Linked DNA regions of Homo sapiens: regions 2 and 3 are each linked to region 1. The links are contacts of gene promoters, found by promoter capture Hi-C in blood cells and fetal thymus (Javierre and others, 2016). All regions are on one chromosome and are shown on one strand. Each heading gives the region's core, a stretch centred on a gene start or on the middle of the fragment in contact. The rest is flanking DNA. Distances are from core to core; before and after follow the strand shown. Region 1 holds the start of MED31 (mediator complex subunit 31). Region 2 has its middle 82 kb from the start of TEKT1. Region 3 overlaps SLC16A13 (solute carrier family 16 member 13).

Region 1 (2,700 bases), core at 110-2,609:
TAATGTCATTCAACTGAGAATGTGTAAAAGTAGATACTATTTTGAACTGCAACTCTTCTGTCAGAAATCATTAATAGCTACTCAATTTAATGAGGTGCTTAACAACTTACAATTAAGGTAATTTGGGTTGGCTAAACATTGCACAAATTCCAACTCCAACTGAAACCGAAGTCGATTTCCAGCATCATCTAGGAGACAAGACAGCAAAAATCATGGAAAACAAAGGTCACTGTATATAATACTGATTTGTAGTAAGGAAAGAGCAATAAAGAAACCTGACTAATGTTGAGATGGTCTTCCTAAACTAGGAGTGGGAGGAGATAAACCTTCCTTCGAAATCTAAGAAAAGCGGAGCCCTGATTAAAAGGAGTAAGTTAGAAGTTTCTCTAAAGTTAAAGAGAAATCATCAAAGAAAACAGCAACACAAACGGAGAATTCCTACCACTCGTGGGCCACTATGTAGGAATTTTAACAGTGATCACTAAGGTAGGCTGTAATAACTGTGGCTTCCCCTATTTTAATAATGCGTTGTAACAACTGTTAACAGTGATTAAGTTTCGCAAACGCTAGGGGCTGAATCAGTAAAGAAAAACTTAGGATGCAAGAGACTGCGGAGAGCCTAAAAGATCATGCAGCGCATGCATATAAGAAGCACCAGGGTCAGGAGATCGAGACCATCCTGGCTAACACAGTGAAACCCCGTCTCTACTAAAAATACAAAAAAAATTAGCCGGGAGCGGTGGCGGGCTCCTGTAGTCCCAGCTACTTGAGAGGCTGAGGCAGGAGAATGGCGTGAACCCAGGAGGCGGAGCTTGCAGTGAGCCGAGATCGCGCCACTGCACCCCAGCCTGGGCGACAGAGCCAGACGCTGTCTCAAAAAAAAAAAAAAAAAGAAGCACCAGTAGCAGAATGATACACAAGTCTGGCGACGATATTTCAAACTTAGGCAAGCTCATGTGAGAAGCAGAAAACCAATCAAGGAGGACACGGTTTAACACACAAGTCCTCTCCCTTAGTCTCACCCACGCCAGGGAGCTGGTGGGGTGGTGTCTGAATAGCAAAGATGTGCGAACAAACCAAATCAGGAAAACTGCAAAGAGTACCTTAGTCTTTCTAGACGCTACAAGAGCCTTCTCTCCTCTCTGTCCAAATATTAACCCTGCCAAGAGTAAGGCCTGGAAGGAGGCCACGGGGAAGAGGTCTGGGTCAAGGAGAGTTCCATCTGCGAAGACTCCAAGATCAGAGAGCTACTCACCTGTCTCCATAGCGACAGCAGCGGCCATAACAAACGAAGACACCAAAACGCCACCAGCCTGACAGAGCAAAAGCCCAGAGACGCGGGCGAAGTTCCGGAAACCACGGCTCCCTCTTCCGGTCCCGGGGCACTGTGGGATATGGGGCGGGGCGGCTCCGCCCATCCCCGACCAGCCCTGGGATGGCTCCACCCGCGCTGGCTCCAAAATAGCGAGGGGGCGGGGCCCGGGCCGTGGGAGCGCCTGAGGGGCAGGAGTCCAGTGTTTTAGCCTTCGAAGGACCATGGTGCTTCCACGTCATCGTGTTGTGGCGCTCCCGGCTATGGCAGTACCGTAGTTTTCCTCTCTTCTGCCTGCGGTGACCATTGGGCTGTAGGGTGCCCCGAGGCCTCCCTGGCCCCCTCACGCCGGCAGAATGGCCTCAGCCCGAGGGGCCAAGCAGTCTTCGCCCCGGGTGGGGACCACCCGCTACACAGAGACGTCCACGGTCCGCGTGGAGACCTCGTCCCACCGCGTGGAGACGTCGTCCCGGCGGGTGGAGACCTCCCAGCGCCGCAGCGAGGGGCCCTCCCTCTCCCCCTCGGGGAAGCGGCTCCCTCGCATCCTCGAGGCGTCCTCCCGGCACGTGGAATCCTCCTCGCAGCGCACGGAAACGACCTCCCGCCACGTCAGAGCCTCGTCCCTGAGGGTGGAGACGTCTCTGCACTGCGCGGAGAGCCCGACCCCGCGGGCCAAGCCGGCCGCCCGCCAGAACGAAAAAACGGCCCGATGAGATGCTGCTTCCCAAAGGCCACCAAGGGGCCAGGGCCCTCAGCCAGGACAGAAAGGCCTCCAGTTGCCAGCCAGCCAGCCAGCTGCCAGGTGGACCAATCATTTTCGGTTTCATGGAAACAAACCATAAATCAATGTAAGAAACAGCCAAGCCGCAGTTTCTGAACACAGCCAACGTTTACTGACCGTCCTGCGTCTTGGACCAGCCTACTTTTGACCCAGTGAACTATTTTCACTTGAAGCCAGCACAGAAGGTTTTCAGGCCCAGGATGCTGTCTAAATCGGGTTGATGGACAAAGAGAGGCTGTTTGAGCCTCTGAGCCAGGTGAGTTTGGGATCCACAGCCCTCAGAAAACCTTCACCCCTTAGGAACAGAGACCAAACTGAAATAATGACCTGTGGAATGATTCCATGCCTGCTAAAAACTCGAGGGACAAGGAACAGACTCATAAATTATTAATTGGCCTTTGTTTATGTTTCAAAGTAAATGGTCGTTTTCTTTATGCTAAGTCTTTGTACCTGGCACCCCCATCCATACACTTTTTTAAGGTAGGTTAGATGTGGTTAAAAATGACAGTAAACCCACCAGCAAGCAAAAATAATCTTAGAAAGTGAGAGGAGGTCACTGAAACCTGGCCTGAGGTTTGAAGAAGATGGAGAAGAGTTATATTTATTG
Region 2 (2,700 bases), core at 125-2,624, 260 kb after region 1:
GATAATCTGGAATACAGGCAAAAAGGAAGGAAAGATCACCTACAAAGGAACCAGAATTAGCACAACAACAAAACTCCCAACAACAACGGAAGCCAGAAAATAACAGAATCAGGTCTTCGGTGTATTGAAAAAAATTATTGGTCAACCAAGAAATGTGAACTCAGCAGAACTCTAAAAAAAATGGTTTCAATCATTTTTTAATGAGAAAATTTACTTCTAAAGAAAGACCTGCCTCACAAAAACTTTTGGTAATGTGCTCAGAAAGAAAAGGAAAAATAATACTATAAAAGTTATCTGAGATGCCAAGAACGTGGTAATATGTAAAGAAACCAAAAGCAACAGTGTCAGGTTGAAACAAGCATGCTTTATAATTTGTAGTATTTTTTTAAAGGCAGATATGCTGGTTCCTCTCTGCCACTGAATGTAACAATGAAGACCTGGGCAGAATGCGTGAAGCAGCAGTATCACGGGGGTTGGAGTGAAAGCAGAAGGAAAACTAGTAATCAGCTTACTAGATTTTCCCTGCAGAACTCCTAGACTGACTTCAAGGCAGCCTAAAACCTAGAGGTGCAAGTCAGCATGGACAGATCAAGCTTTAGGGAAAGCCCTCAGTTCTGGGATAAGGGAGTGATAAAGGGGTCTCCTGGAAATGACAACAGCAGCGGGGGCCGATAAGCACGTGCAGTCTGAAGAAGGGGAATCTTCCTCTCCAATCAGAAGAAGTGTGGTCCCAAGAGCGCGGGGAACACCTCCGTGGATTTTTTTTCCTCTCTCTTTCCTCTTATCACTTGACCCCGAATGAGGGCACAGATGCAAGAAGTGTACAGCAAGGTAGGCTAAATTAGGCCCTAAATTTCTGGCTGAAGGACCAAAAAGGAAAATGCCAGGAAACTGAAAAGCACAGAGGAGATCACAGGGAGAGAGGAGCTCAGGAAGGAAACCCCAAAATATTGTTTATAAGCTCAGGGGCTCATTCCTAAACTGCACAAACAGAGATTAGATCACGGACCAAACTACTAAAGACTGAGAGCTGAATTCAGAGATAGGGTCCCATCCAGGTTCCTAACTGGGTGGCACATGCATGGGCTAGATCCAAATAGCATTGCAAAGGCCTGGAAAACAGAACTAGAATTGAAACCACCGCGGAAGACTCATTCGAACTCGTGGGCTGAACTCAACCAGGTCAATGCTTCAGAAAAATACCAGCATTCTCCACAGGACATAAACAAGATTGTCTCATAACATACCATTCAAAATATTAGGATACAATCCAAAATTGCTCATCATAAGAAGACAGGAAAATCTCAGTTCACATGGGAAGAGACATAGATGACTATGAAGAGAAGTTATAAAATACTCCAAGTCGGGGCAAACACTGTTGAAAAGGTAGAAGACCTCAGGAACTAAATAGAAAAATATAAAGGAGAACCAAATGAACATTTCAGAACTGAAAAATGCAATAAGGTTTTTTAACTGTTTCTGTCAAGATGGCGGATGAGAGGCATTGCTGGCACGCCTCTCCCACGTGGAAGGACAAAATAGTGTAGAGACATTCACTTTGTGAACTTTTTTCAAGAGGCGATGCAGTCATTGAACAGGAAAACCCAGGGACGCTTTGAAGGACGCAGGAGGCTGCAGTCTACACTGTGAGTCAGGTGAAGGACTGTGAGTCCCAGAGTGTGAGAGGGGAAGAGTTTTTGCCTCTGGGATACACACCCCCACCAGGGACCCTGAAAGTACAGGACACGGAGGAAGGCCCTAACCCCACCCAGCAAAGGGACCAACTCGGGGAGGGTGGCGGAATATAAAAATAGGAGCAGTGGCAGAAGACACTTGCGTGCACTCCCAAATCCCAACACAGGAGGGCAGCCGTTCCTTACTGTTCCTCACAGGGGACCCCCGTGGAGGACAGGCAAAAAGTTTAGACGGCGGTCGCAGGTTGAACGAAGCTCCCGAGGGGTTTCATGATATATATACATAACCTTGGGTGGGGACCAACTCCCTTGGCCAGGGCCAGGCGTGGGAGAGTGAAAAGTGGGCTGCGAGTGCAGGGGGCCGTGAGTGCGGAAGCCGCGGGTGCAGGAACCTCGGGTGCCGGCTTTGCAGGACAGGGAAGGGTGTGGCGTGAAAACCACAATTGCGATCTCCCGTGGGGAAAGCTTATAACTGTGGCAAGTTCCGATTACAGACTGGCTGGAATTCAGCTCGCCGCTGCCAGTGGAAGCTGTGGTAGTAGATCTGCCTCACTGAGTGCATGGGAATTGGGGGCTCACCGCTGCCTGCTACTCCCCACTCTGCACAAACTCTTCTGCGCAGCGGGGGCAGAAGAACATCAACCCAGTGGCCTGAGACCCACTCCATCCCCCAACATTCACAGGAGCTGCTGCTTGCCCTGCACACGGAGAATCAGAGCACAAACCTGACCGACGCAGCCCCCATCTCGCTTTGCCCCGCCACTTGCCCTGGTAGCTTAACACAAAGGACAGAATCTCTTGAGAGCTCTGTGGCCCTGACTATTGCCTGTGAAACCAGAGTATTCCTCCCTCCACGCCCCCACCACCACGCCCCTCCCCCCCCCCCCCCCCCACACACCCACCTACCGCAGCCGGTGTTCATTTGCAAGCACCACCTCCTGGCTGGAGGCCAACCAGCACAGTCCATTACAGCATCTCCTGGTAGAATAACATTGCACCCAGGAAG
Region 3 (2,700 bases), core at 180-2,679, 390 kb after region 1:
TCACGAGGTCAGGAGTTTGAGACCAGCCTGGCCAACATGGTGAAACCCCGTCTCTACAAAAATACAAAAATTAGCCGGGCCTGGTGGCGCTAATCCCAGTTACTCGGGAGGCTGAGGCAGGAGAATCGCTTGAACCCGGGAGGCGGAGGTTGCAGTGAGCCAAGATCGCACCACTGCACTCCAGCCTGGGCGACAGAGCAAGATTCTGTCTCAAAAAAAAAAAAAAAAAAGATGAAACCAAGTATACAAGCCCAGAAGCCCAGGGCTAATGGGACTGGAGTGTAAAAGGAAGAATTACTATAAAATGGTGCTAGGGGCCAGGCACGGTGGCTCACGCCTGTAATCCCAGCACTTTGGGAGGCCGAGGCGGGCGGATCACGAGGTCAGGAGATCAAGACCATCCTGGCTAACACGGTGAAATCACGTCTCTACTAAAAACACAAAAAATTAGCTGGGCGTGGTGGCAGGTGACTGTAGTCCCAGCTACTCGGGAGGCTGAGGCAGGAGAATGGTGTGAACCCGGGAAGCAGAGCTTGCAGTGAGCCGAGATTGCACCACTGCACTCCAGCCTGGGCGACAGAGCGAGACTCCGTCTCAAAAAAAAAAAAGAAAAAAAAAGGTGCTAGGTACTGTGACTGTGAAATCGATATCATTATTGGATTTACAGCTGGGGAAAAGCTTTAAAGCTTATACAACTTGGCAAATGAAGGTCACACAGCTAGAAATGGTAGAGCCCAGGTCTAACTCCAAAGTTCTGTGCTAGTTACCTTACAAACTTTGTCTCTAATCTTCCACAATCCCAAAAAGTGTATTATTACATTTTGCAGTTGAGAAGGTTGAGGCTGGGGGTGTTAAGTAAAACACACAAGGTTACACAGCTATGAAGTATCCAAGCCAAGATTGTATCCCAGGTCTGTGGGACTCCGAAGCAAGTGCTACATTCTGCTGCTGGGCAATGCGGGGATTACTGTGTGCCTTGAGCTCCCTAAGAGTTCTCAACACCACTTCTTCCTTTTTGACAGGCTCTGGCTGGGCTTTGACCTTCGCTCCGACCCTGGCCTGCCTGTCCTGTTATTTCTCTCGCCGACGATCCCTGGCCACCGGGCTGGCACTGACAGGCGTGGGCCTCTCCTCCTTCACATTTGCCCCCTTTTTCCAGTGGCTGCTCAGCCACTACGCCTGGAGGGGGTCCCTGCTGCTGGTGTCTGCCCTCTCCCTCCACCTAGTGGCCTGTGGTGCTCTCCTCCGCCCACCCTCCCTGGCTGAGGACCCTGCTGTGGGTGGTCCCAGGGCCCAACTCACCTCTCTCCTCCATCATGGCCCCTTCCTCCGTTACACTGTTGCCCTCACCCTGATCAACACTGGCTACTTCATTCCCTACCTCCACCTGGTGGCCCATCTCCAGGACCTGGATTGGGACCCACTACCTGCTGCCTTCCTACTCTCAGTTGTTGCTATTTCTGACCTCGTGGGGCGTGTGGTCTCCGGATGGCTGGGAGATGCAGTCCCAGGGCCTGTGACACGACTCCTGATGCTCTGGACCACCTTGACTGGGGTGTCACTAGCCCTGTTCCCTGTAGCTCAGGCTCCCACAGCCCTGGTGGCTCTGGCTGTGGCCTACGGCTTCACATCAGGGGCTCTGGCCCCACTGGCCTTCTCCGTGCTGCCTGAACTAATAGGGACTAGAAGGATTTACTGTGGCCTGGGACTGTTGCAGATGATAGAGAGCATCGGGGGGCTGCTGGGGCCTCCTCTCTCAGGTAAGTGGAATGGGGTTCCCAGGGGGTGAGGGCTGCCATGTTGCACAACTAGGGGAGGGTACTATTCTCATTACAGTGTATGTGAATATTGCCCTCTGGTGTAGTACAGTACACAGCCTGCGTGGCCAACCATAGCATCCCTGAAATGGGTCCATGGGGCAAAGAACTTGGGGCTGGGAAAGTCTGAGTGGAAAGACAAAAAGAAGCTAAGTGGAACCCTTGGCAGGGTGCCTACGGCTTGGGTTTGCAGAGGACCTGGCAGAACCTGGCCAGACACAGACGTAGCATTCCAGTGTGCACCCTTTCCTTTGGCCTACTGGGCCCCAAACCAGGTATCTGAGGCACCTGGTCAAAGTTCTGCTGGCTCAGGGTGCCAGAACTTTCAGACCTTTATCTCCTCTTACCCATTAACTGAAGCTTTAGAAAGGCCACAGTTGGTGGGCGCCTGTAGTCCCAGCTACTCAGGAGGCTGAGGCAGGAGAATGGCATGAACCCGGGAGGCGGAGCTTGCAGTGAGCTGAGATCGCGCCACTGCACTTCAGCCTGGGCGACAGAGCGAGACTCCGTCTCAAAAAAAAAAAAAAAAGAAAGGCCACAGTTGCCAGAAAGAAAGGCACAAGTATGCCTGACTCAATCTGGATCTCCAAATCCCTGCAGGCTGGTTTGGAGGTCCTTTCTGAAGGCGGGGAGGTGGTTGAAATTAACTTTTGAGGCCCTTTTGGGAAACCAGAGTTCTTAAGTTTATCCAACTATTCCATGGGAGTTCCAACTCCTCTGAGATGATAAGTCTTCCCTCCACCCAAAAATGTATCTGAGCCCTCAGCCCCAGCAAATAGATCACTCATGTGTATTCTTTTTCTCTCTTGGACCTAGGCTACCTCCGGGATGTGACAGGCAACTACACGGCTTCTTTTGTGGTGGCTGGGGCCTTCCTTCTTTC

The links. The method cuts DNA at HindIII sites, captures the fragments that hold promoters and counts their contacts. A CHiCAGO score of 5 or more calls a contact.
Region 2: a contact is called between a fragment that was not itself captured here and the fragment with the promoter of MED31 in region 1, in 1 of 17 cell types (erythroblasts). The highest score is 5.8, in erythroblasts.
Region 3: a contact is called between a fragment that was not itself captured here and the fragment with the promoter of MED31 in region 1, in 1 of 17 cell types (fetal thymus). The highest score is 5.7, in fetal thymus.

The regions. Positions count from the first base shown.
Region 1 is chr17:6,650,246-6,652,945 of GRCh38, forward strand. It overlaps MED31 (mediator complex subunit 31), which reads right to left and starts at 1,360. Exons shown (of 4, transcript NM_016060.3): 1 at 1,256-1,360; 2 at 111-188. The coding sequence starts at 1,283. C17orf100 (chromosome 17 open reading frame 100) reads left to right here and starts at 1,517. Exons shown (of 1, transcript NM_001105520.2): 1 at 1,517-2,700. The coding sequence starts at 1,669. The coding sequence ends at 2,025. RefSeq lists enhancers at 775-834, 925-1,004, 1,075-1,204 and silencers at 1,455-1,534, 1,835-1,884. The HindIII fragment of the contact is 11,591 bases long and covers 1-2,700 here.
Region 2 is chr17:6,912,164-6,914,863 of GRCh38, forward strand. No RefSeq gene overlaps it. Among named protein-coding and RNA genes, the nearest start is that of TEKT1, 82 kb to the left of the region's middle. RefSeq lists an enhancer at 2,132-2,700. The HindIII fragment of the contact is 1,566 bases long and covers 592-2,157 here.
Region 3 is chr17:7,037,130-7,039,829 of GRCh38, forward strand. SLC16A13 (solute carrier family 16 member 13) reads left to right here. Exons shown (of 4, transcript NM_201566.3): 3 at 1,023-1,760; 4 at 2,634-2,700. Among named protein-coding and RNA genes, the nearest start is that of SLC16A13, 2.5 kb to the left of the region's middle. The HindIII fragment of the contact is 1,491 bases long and covers 685-2,175 here.